Linked DNA regions of Homo sapiens: all the other regions are linked to region 1. The links are contacts of gene promoters, found by promoter capture Hi-C in human tissues and cell types (Jung and others, 2019). All regions are on one chromosome and are shown on one strand. The core of a region is centred on a gene start or on the middle of the fragment in contact, and the rest is flanking DNA. Distances in the headings are between cores, read along the strand shown. Region 1 holds the start of CCKAR (cholecystokinin A receptor). Region 2 has its middle 39 kb from the start of TBC1D19. Region 3 has its middle 41 kb from the start of CCKAR. Region 4 has its middle 35 kb from the start of CCKAR.

Region 1 (2,653 bases), core at 73-2,572:
GGTTGAAGGGCTTTCCAGCACCACAGAGCTTCATGGAACACCCAGGACCCTGAGATGGCCCCCCTCTCTGATCTCACGTCCTGCTGTTTGCCTCTCACTCACTCCTACTTCTATCTATTTGTACCTCAATGGGGCCACACTCATTCCCACCTCAGGGCCTTTGCACTTGCTGTTACCTCTGCTAAAAGTGCTCCTCCTTTTGCCTGGGAGAAGCTGTCTTGGGATCTTCACAAGACTTTGTCCTTCTTGTGGTTCAGTCTCAGATCACAGTCCCCTCCTTAAGAGACCTCTCCTGACTACCCCTTCTAAATCAGCAGCCCCAGGCCAGGTGCAGTGGCTCACGCCTGTAATGCCAACACTGGGAGGCCAAGGCAGGAGGATTGCTTGAGCTCAGGAGCTTGAGACCAGCCTGGGCAACATAGCGAGACCTCCTCTCTTCTAAAACTAAAAAAATCAGCTGGGCTTAGTGGTGTGTGCCTGTAGTCCCAGCTACTCAGGAGGCTAAGGTAGGAGGATTGCTTGAGCCAGGGAGCAAGGCTGCAGTGAGCCATGATCGCGCCACTCCACTGCAGCCTGGGGAACAGAGCAAGACCCTGTCCCCGCCCCCCAAAAAATCAGCCCCTAATCTGTTTGTATACATCACATCTCCCTGCTTTACTCCCTTTGTAGTACTTACTACCTGAAATAATTCTGCTCATTATTTGCTGACATGCTAGAAAAGTGCCTGGCAAATGATTGACTCTCAATGAAGATGTGCTGAATGCAAGGCTTCATGAATGAAGAGGAAATCTCACTAACGTCTTTTGTAATAAGGACCCAGGTACCTATGTTCAAAAGTGCCTCAATCCTAGTTAACAAGGGCAGAGACCACGAGAAACAACACTGTGTTTAGTAGCAACTTAACAACCAGCCAGCAGTTCTGTCCACACACACACCACCGGGCATGGTTCCAAAGCTAAAAAGGCACTAATTGCTTTTCTATAAGGAGGTAGAACACAGTCCCTCCGTGTTCTTTAGGCCTGATGGTCTGCATTATCGGATCTGTTACCGTGTTAATTGTTCCTGTCTCACACAGCCGGTTTGGGCTTTCTTCTGCATATGTCTGGGATGGTGACGGGTTCCTATATAGAGGAGTACTGGGGAAGCCTCTGTGTGTGTGTGTGTGTCCGTGCATATGTACACATGTGTGTAAAAAGCAGCCACACGCTGAGAATGGTTAACGGGTAGCCAGGCTGTCTGTACTCAGGGCCCTAAGACTGGCCCAGGAAAGGGCCGGGGGAGGTGGGGCGGGGTGAAGGTGGAGCGGGCTTGGCTTGTGCTCACTGCCTTTTCCACAACAGGAGTACAAATGCTGGAGTGAGTGAGGTGAACTCAAGTCGCCTTTAGGAATGGCTGAAAAAGCCCACACCTGGAAATCACTCCCTCCCTGCTCCTCCACGGCAGGTTGCATCTGCGAGACGCTTCGGTCATTAGAGGAATGAGCCGGGAGTGAGCAATTCACCAGCTCTCCAGCACTTGGTGGAAAGCAGCAGGCAAGGATGGATGTGGTTGACAGCCTTCTTGTGAATGGAAGCAACATCACTCCTCCCTGTGAACTCGGGCTCGAAAATGAGACGCTTTTCTGCTTGGATCAGCCCCGTCCTTCCAAAGGTAAGTGTCGGAAGCTGTTATTTTAATTCAGGAAACTATTGAGTTGTGGGAGAAATCAGCAAAGGCAAGGCTGATAAAAAATATATATAACCAAGTCATTGTGAGACAAGGCTAGATAAAGTCATATGTTCAGAAGTTTGGAGAAGAGATTAAAAAGCAGAATAGAGTCAAATATTCTTATTGTCCCCCATGGGGGAGTTGGGCATTCATGAATAGGACTTGGGGGAACAAAAGCAGGGGAGGAAAAGCTGAGTGAAGCAAGAGGGACTACAAGTGTCAAAGCCTGAACTTACAAGCACAGCAGAAAAGGTGTTGTCACCATGCAGCTGTTTTCTTTTCTTGGGGGGAAACCCAGCATGAAGTGATTAAAGTGAAATAATGCTTAGCAGCCAGGAAAGAAAGTGATCACTGTTCACTTGAGGAGCTTTGTTCTTAAGAAAAAGTGGTTCCCTGAGTGATCCTTTAACAAACCAACCTTCTAAAAAGAAAATAATTCAGTCTCTGCTTTCCTCAATTTGTTTCCGCAAAATGTTGCCAGGACAGGAATCGTGGGTCCAGTGATGTACACCCCGGTGGGGGGAAAATCGGCAGGAATTCACCCTTGGCTTCGGTTTTAGCATTCTGCTGTCATCACCTCCATCCCTCCGTCTTGCTCCTGTTTCTCTCTGCAGAGTGGCAGCCAGCGGTGCAGATTCTCTTGTACTCCTTGATATTCCTGCTCAGCGTGCTGGGAAACACGCTGGTCATCACCGTGCTGATTCGGAACAAGCGGATGCGGACGGTCACCAACATCTTCCTCCTCTCCCTGGCTGTCAGCGACCTCATGCTCTGTCTCTTCTGCATGCCGTTCAACCTCATCCCCAATCTGCTCAAGGATTTCATCTTCGGGAGCGCCGTTTGCAAGACCACCACCTACTTCATGGGTAAGTTGCTGCTGGTGACTCTTTCTGGAGCTTGCCCCAGACCCCACTCAGCCCCAGACCTTCCCAAACCTCTGACAATC
Region 2 (2,653 bases), core at 89-2,588, 55 kb before region 1:
ATAACAAGTTCCAAAATTGATGCAGTAATAAATAGCCTACCAACCAAAAAAAGCACAAGACCAGATGGATTTGCAGCTGAATTCTACCAGAGGTACAAAAAGGAGCTGGTATCATTTATTTTAAAACTGTTCCAAACAATTGAAAAGGTGGGACTTCTCCCTAACTCATTTTATGAGGTCAGCATCATCCTGATACCAAAACCTGGCAGAGAAACAGCAAAAAAAGAAAACTTCAGGTCAATGTCCCTGATGAACATCAATGCAAAAATCCTCGATAAAACACTGGCAATCCAAATCCAGCAGCACATCAGAAAGTTTATCCACCACGATCAAGTTGGCTTCATCCCTGGGATGCAAGGCTGGTTCAACATATGCAAATTAATTACCTAAACAGAACTAAAGACAAAAACCACATTATTATCTCAATAGACACAGAAAAGGCCTTTGATAAAATTCAATACCCCTTCATGTTAAAAAGTCTCAATAAACTCGATATTGATGGAACGTACCTCAAAATAATAAGAGTCATTTATGACAAACCCACAGACAATAACATACTCAATAGGCAAAATCTAGAAGCATTCCCCTGGAAAACTGGCACAAGTCAAGGATGCCCTGTCTCACCACTTCTATTCAACATAGTATTGGAAATTCTGGCCAGGGCAGTCAGGCAAGAAAAAGAAATAAAGCATATTCAAATAGGAAGAGAGGAAGTCAAACTGTCTCTGTTTGCAGACAACGTGATCCTATATCTAGAAAACCCCATCATCTCAGCCCCAAAGCATCATAAGATGATAAGCAACTTCAGCAGTCTCAGGACATAAAACCAATGTGCAAAAATCACAAGCATTCCTATACAATAATAGACAATCAGAAAGCCAAATCATGAATTAACTCCCATTCAGAATTGCTACAAAGAGAATACAATACCTAGGAATACAGCTAACAAGGGAAGTGAAGGACCTCTTCAAGGAGAACTACAAAACACTACTCAAGGAAATTAGAGAGGACACAAACAAATGGAAAAACATTCCATGCTCATGGATAGGAAGAATCAATATTGTGAAAACGGCCATACTGCCCAAAGTAATTTATAGATTCAATGCTATTCCCATTAAACTGCCATTAGCATTCTTCACAGAATTAGATAAAAAACTACTTTAAAATTCATATGGAACAAATAAAGAGCCCATATATCCAAGACAATCCTAAGCAAAAAGAACAAAACGGGAGGCATCACACCACCAGATTTCAAACTATACTCCAAGGCTACAGTAACCAAAACAGTATGGTACCAGTACAAAAACAGACACATAGACCAACATGGAACAGAATAGAGATTGCAGAAATAAGGTAGCACATCTACAGCCATCTGATCTTCTACAAACCTGACAAAAACAAGTAATGGGGAAAGGATTCCTTATTTAATAAATAGTGCTGGGATATGCATATGCAGAAAATCGAAACTGGACCCCTTCCTCACACCTTATACAAAAATTAACTCAAGATGGATTAAAGACTTAAATGTAAATCCCAAAACTATAAAAACCCTAGAAGAAAATTTGGGCAATACCATTGAGGACACAGGCACAGGTAAAAAATTTATGACAAAAATATCAAAAGCAATTCAACAAAAGCAAAAATTGACAAATGGGATCTAATTAAACTAAAGAGTTTTCTGCTCAGCAAAAGAAACTATCCTCAGAGTGAACAGACATCCTACAGAATGGGAGAAAATTTTTGCAATCTATCCGTTCGACAAAGGTCTAATATCCAGAATCTACAAGGATTGTAGATTAAACAAATTTGAAAAAAAAAAAAAAAACTACCTCATTAAAAAGTGGGCAAAAACCATGAACAGACACTTCTCAAAAGAAGACATTTATGTGGCCAAAAAACATGTGGAAAAAAGCTCAACATCACTGATCATTAGAGAAATGCAAATTAAAAATGCAATGATATACTATCTCATGCCAGTCAGAATGGCAATTATTAAAAAGTCAAGAAGAAACAGATGCTGGTGCAGCTGTAGAGGAAGAGAAATGCTTTTATACTGTTGGTTGGAATGTAAATTAGTTCAGCCATTATGGAAGACAGTGTGGTGATTCCTCAAAGATCTAGAAGCAGAAATAGCATTTGACCCAGCAATCCCATTACTAGGTATATATCCAAAAGAATATAAATCATTCTAGTATAAAGGTACATATACATGTATGTTCATTGCAGCACTGCTCACAATAGCAAAGACATGAAATCAACCCAAATGCCCATCAATGATAGACTGGATAAAGAAAACGTGGTACATACACACCATGGAATACTATGCAATCATAAAAAGGAATGAAATCATGTCCTTTGCAGGGACGTTGATGGAACCGGAAGCCATTATCCTCAGCAAACTAATGCAGGAACAGAAAACCAAACACCACATATTCTCACTTATAAGTGGGAGCTGAACAATGAGAACACATGGACACAGGGAGGGGAACAACATACACTGGGGCCTGTCAGGGTGGTGGAGGGAGGGACAGCATCAGGATAAATAGCTAATGCATGTGGGGCTTAATAACTGCATGATGGGTTGATAGGTGCAGCAAACCACTGGGGCACACATTTACCCATGTAACAAATCTGCACATTCTGCACATGTATC
Region 3 (2,653 bases), core at 70-2,569, 41 kb after region 1:
TTAACCCTCAGGTGATTCTGTTGCAGGGTCATGTTTGAGAACCGTCACCTAAGGCCAAGGAAGGAAAATAACTGGTGTCTGTGCATAGTCTCCATCTCACACACCAGGCATCACTGCTCATAATGCCCTTTAGTTAACCGCAGATGCAGCCTCTGAATCCTTGTTTTTAAGTTCTGGGATACATGTACAGAGCGTGCAGGTTTGTTACATAGGTATACATGTGCCATGGTGGTTTCCTCCACCTATCAACCCATCATCTAGGTTTTAAGCCCTGCATGCATTAGGTATTTGTCCTAATGTTCTCCCTCCCCTTGCCTCTGACCCTCCGACAGGCCCCATTGTGTGATGTTCCCCTCCCTGTGTCCATGTGTTTTCATTTTTCAACTCCCACTTACAAGTGAGAACACGCGATGTTTGGTTTTCTGTTCCTGTGTTAGTTTGCTGAGAATGGTCCTTCTTGACACACAGCACTCCTGACAACCATCACCACTACGGGCCACAGGGAGGCAATGGAGATAGTCATGTGTTAATCCACACAGAGAAAGAGTCACCTCCCTGGACTCAATTATCCATTCCGGGAGCAACTCCTGACATTTCTGCAGTCATGTTCAAGCCCAGAGCCTGGTACAGATCTGGGCCTGTTCCAAGAACTTGGTTTTCTTAACTGTGCCCTGTCTCCTTGAGTACTGGGCTTCCCTTGCAAAAGCAGGAGCAAAACTAAAACAAACATGGAATGGAGAGCAGCTCAACTGGGCGAGGCTGGGTTTGATCAGCAGCCGGGCTGTGGACCAGCTCAGAGGCCCTAGGTGAGTCTCAAGCCTCACCTGTAGCTCCCCCGTAACAATGAAAACCTGTGAGGTGTAAGGAGAGCAACAAAGGCTTTTGGAATCAAATTTTGGTTTCTATCCCAGTTCTGTCGCTTTTGAACTGTGGAATCTAAGGTAAATTACTTAAGGCATCATTTTCTAACCTGTAAAATAGAAATAATAACACCTGCTTCTCTGAGCGGTTTGGAAGATTAAATAAGATGATATATGTAAAGCCCCTGACTCAGTACCTAGTTTACGGGACAAGAATGATACATTTACTCCAGGAGGAACCCTCTGTCTTTTGTCCTCCACATCTCAATCAGTATCTTGAGTCAGTGAGTGGAAAAAAAAAATCAGCTAAAGTGGAATATTCATAAAACAGGAAATAGTATAAGTTTTAACTTAAACATATACATATTAATGATCTTTGATATAGGGCTAAGGCCTTTTCTTTGACAATGTGCCCAGTAATTTACATTCTCCATGATTTTTCTTGCAAAAATCTCATCCCAAATCTGTGACTTCTGGTTTGGGTTTATTATTATTATTTTTTATTTCAATAGCTTTTGGGGTACAAGTAGTTTTTGGTTACATGGATGAAGTGTGTAATGGTGAAGTTTGAGATTAGTGTACTCATCAGCTGAGTAGTATATATTGTACCCAATATGTAGTTTTTTTAGCCCTCACCCTCTTCCTAGCCTCCCTGCTTCTGTCTCCAATGTCCATTTTTCCACTCTGTCTACCTTTGCGTACCCATAGCTTAGCTCCCACTTATAAGTCAGAACATAGTTTTCCATTCCTGAGTTATTTTACTTAGAATAATGGCCTCCATCTCCACCCAAGTTGCTGCAAAATACATTATTTTATTCTTTTTTATGGCTGAGTAGTAGTCCATGGTGTATATACACCACATTATCCATTCATTGGGTGGTGGGCACTTAGATTGGTTCCTTATCAACTGTGAATTGTGATGCAATAAACGTATGTGTGCAGGTGTCTTTTGAATATAATGACTTCTTTAAACATATGTGTGCAGGTGTCTTTTGAATATAATGATTTGGTAGATACCCAGTAGTGGGATTCCTGGATCAAATGGTAGATCTACTTTTCGTTTTTAAAGAAACCTCCATACTGTTTTCCATAGAGGCTGTACTGATTTACATTCCCACCAGCAGTGGATAAGTGTTCCCTTTTCACCACATGCACACCAACATCTATTTTTTTTTATTTTTTATTTTTTAATAATGGCCATTCTGGCTGGGGTAAGCTGGTATCTCACTGTGGTTTTAGTGTGCATTTCCCTGATTTTGATGTTGAATATTTTCACATTTGTTGGCCATCTGTATTATCTTCTTTTGAGAAACGTCTACTCATGTCATTTGCCCACTTTTTGATGAGACTTTTTTTTTGTTCATTTGAGTTCCTTGAAGACTCTGGATATTAGTCCTTTGTCAGATGCATAGTTTGTGACAATTTTCTCCCATTCTGTGGGTTGTCTGTTTACCCTGTTGAGTATTTATTTATTTTGCTATGCAGAAGCTTTTTAGTTTAATTAGGTCCCATTTATTTATTTTTGTCTTTGTTGCATTTGCTTTTAGGGTCCTAGGTTTTCTTTTAGACTTTTTATGGTTTGGGGTCTTAGATTTAAGTTTTTTTATCCATCTTGAGTTGATTTTTGTATATGGTGACAGACAGGGATCCAGTTTCATTCTTCTACATGTAGCTATCCAGTTTTCCCAGCACCATTTATTGAATAGGGTGTCCTTTCCCTAGTTTATGTTTTTGTATGTTTTGTTGAAGATCAGTTGAAGTATTTTGCCTTACTTCTGGGTTCTCTATTCTGT
Region 4 (2,653 bases), core at 80-2,579, 35 kb before region 1:
GAGTGAATACTTGTGTAGCATTTACTGTGTGCTGGGTACTGCCCTAAGAACTGTAGGCATTGACTCATTGAAACCTATTAACAAACAAAAGAGATCAAAAGCCTTATTCCCATTTAACAGATGAAGTAAACAGAGGCATGGAAGGTTTAAGGCACAAGGAAATTGCCCAGTCTCACAAAGCTAGCACGTGGTGGGGCAGAGCTTTGCACCGAGGTAGTCTGGCTTCAGAGTCCAGGTACATAAACATTAGGTAAGCAGGCTCTCAAACAGCATCTAAATATATATATATATATGTGTGTGTGTATATATATATATATATATACGTATATATATGTGTGTGTATATATATATATACGTATATATATATGTGTGTGTATATATATATATATATGTATATATATATGTATATATATATGTATATATATGTGTATATATATATATATATGTATATATATATGTATATATATATGTATATATATGTGTATATATATATATGTATATATATATGTGTATATATATATATGTATATATATATGTGTATATATATATATTATTTTTTTTTTTTAAGAAGGAATTTCGCTCTTGTTGCCCAGGCTGTAGTGCAATGGTGTGATCTCGGCTCACTGCAACCTCTGCCTCCTGGGTTCAAGTGATTCTCCTGCCTCAGCCTCCCGATTAGCTGGGATTACAGGCATGCACCACCACGCCTGGGTAATTTTTTGCATTTTTAGTAGAGACGGGGTTTCTCCATGTTGGTCAGACTGATCTCGAATTCCTGACTTCAGGTGATCCACCGGCCTCGGCCTCCCAAAGTGCTGAGATTACAGGCGTGAGCCGCTGCATCTGGCCGCATCTAAATATTATCTGGGCATTGCATTTATAGAGAATGAAGAGTTTGAGAAACCCAGGTATATAAGGTATATGAAACTCTTGTTTAAGTCTTGAAGATTGATTACCTGAAAAGTAAAGGATGAGAAGAGGCACAGGGAACAAGGCAAGGTGGAAAGAATTCAAGCACAGGCATTAGAGGGACCTGGGTGTGAATCTCAGTGCTGCCACCTCTAAGCTGCCTTACTTTGGAAACAGCACTTCACATGTCTAAGCCTCAGTTTGTTCATCTGCCAAATGAGCATAGCAATGCCTGTCTTGGAGGGTTGCTGGCAGGATGAAACACGACATCGATGGCTGTGCCCTGTGCTTTGCCTTCTTGTCCTTTGGCCCCCAGGTAACCATGTGCAGCCATTGTGTCCACTTGCCCTCCACTCACCCATGTTTTAGTCACTTCTTAGTCATCACCTTTTAGTTTTCCCCGAAGAATACACTTGCACAGAAGCATTTGTAAGTAATATAGACTATACTGAGGATTGTGTAGAAGAGATGAGGAGGAACTTTACCTATCCCCCACCACAGCAACGACTTAGTGTTTCTTTCCCTAACTCCCCTTCTCTGCTAACCTGCTACAGAAGGGGATGGAGTGCGTGGGCAGTTTAAACTTAAAATCTATTTCTTTTTCTTTCTCTCCCTTAACTTTCCCCCAACTCTACACACTTTCAGCTTTCAGACTCCTCCTTCTCCCTCCAAGATCTTTCACCCCAAGCAACTCCATCAAACCATATTGCTTTGGCGCTAAGCCTGCTCTGAATTCTACACTCATATATGCATATTTGACACACTACTTAGCAAACAAAGGGTTCTCTAGTTATTTTATCAGGGCCCATTATCTTGGTTACTATTGCTGCATTAAAAAAACACACACACACACACAAAATGTAGGGGCTCCACATAACAAGAAGCCTTTATTGTCTTTCTCACAGTCCTTTGGGTGGGCTGGGGCTCAGCCTGGTGGTTCCTTGGTTGCACATGGGGTAAGCTGGTGTTACAGTCATTGGGAAGCTGGAATGTCTGAGATGGCTGACTCGCATGGCTGGCAGTTGGAGTTGGTTCTCTGCTGAAAGCTGAACTGGAGCAACTTAGTTCTCCATGTGGTCTCTCCAATTGATTGGGCTTTTCATAGCATGGCAACTGGGTTCCATGAAGGAGCATTCCAAGCACTTGAAAACAGAACTTGCTACTCTCTTAAGGCCCAGGTTTGAAAGTTCTACAGTAAAAAGTTTCCACCACTTTGTATTGGTCAAAGCAAAGACCAGCTTAAATTTAAGAGGAAGAGGGGCAAAGTATTTGTACGATCTTCAATCCACCACACCCATCATCTTGAAAAAGGGGCTCATGCCTGTAATCCTAGCTACCCAGAAGGCTGAGGCAGGAGGATTGCTTGAACCCAGGAGTTTGAGACCAGCCTAGGCAAAAGCAAGATCCCATCTCTAAAGAAAAGAAAAGGGTTATAAATAACAAAATTATTTTTCTGTTACCCATCAAAGTACTTAGCATATAAATGCAATAATGAGATTTTCTGACTTTTACTGTTTTGTGGGTTGAAACATGAACATTGAAAGGTTTACAGTGATGGGAAGGCAAAGAATGGAAAGTTCAGATTAAAAATAGACCTTAATTTTCATATCTGCATACAAGTGCCCTCTTTGGATAAATTTTAAATCACAAACCCCAAAACAATGAAGATCATGTTTTTCAGACAGCGCTTCTTTATCTGCTCCCCATCCATGGCCTATTTCTCATCTCTTCGCTCACCCTGGAG

The links. Contacts are between HindIII fragments. The study calls those that stand out against the background at their distance.
Region 2: a fragment that was not itself captured here is called in contact with the fragment with the promoter of CCKAR in region 1 in 3 of the 25 tissues and cell types used here (mesenchymal stem cells, neural progenitor cells and spleen).
Region 3: a fragment that was not itself captured here is called in contact with the fragment with the promoter of CCKAR in region 1 in 1 of the 25 tissues and cell types used here (pancreas).
Region 4: a fragment that was not itself captured here is called in contact with the fragment with the promoter of CCKAR in region 1 in 6 of the 25 tissues and cell types used here (IMR-90 fibroblasts, aorta, lymphoblastoid cells and 3 more).

Annotation. Positions count from the first base shown.
Region 1 is chr4:26,489,153-26,491,805 of GRCh38, reverse strand. It overlaps CCKAR (cholecystokinin A receptor), which reads left to right and starts at 1,322. Exons shown (of 5, transcript NM_000730.3): 1 at 1,322-1,650; 2 at 2,322-2,573. The coding sequence starts at 1,539. The HindIII fragment of the contact is 14,703 bases long and covers 1-2,653 here.
Region 2 is chr4:26,543,839-26,546,491 of GRCh38, reverse strand. No RefSeq gene overlaps it. Among named protein-coding and RNA genes, the nearest start is that of TBC1D19, 39 kb to the left of the region's middle. The HindIII fragment of the contact is 7,536 bases long and covers 1-2,653 here.
Region 3 is chr4:26,448,479-26,451,131 of GRCh38, reverse strand. No RefSeq gene overlaps it. Among named protein-coding and RNA genes, the nearest start is that of CCKAR, 41 kb to the left of the region's middle. The HindIII fragment of the contact is 3,916 bases long and covers 1-2,653 here.
Region 4 is chr4:26,524,568-26,527,220 of GRCh38, reverse strand. No RefSeq gene overlaps it. Among named protein-coding and RNA genes, the nearest start is that of CCKAR, 35 kb to the right of the region's middle. The HindIII fragment of the contact is 4,585 bases long and covers 1-2,653 here.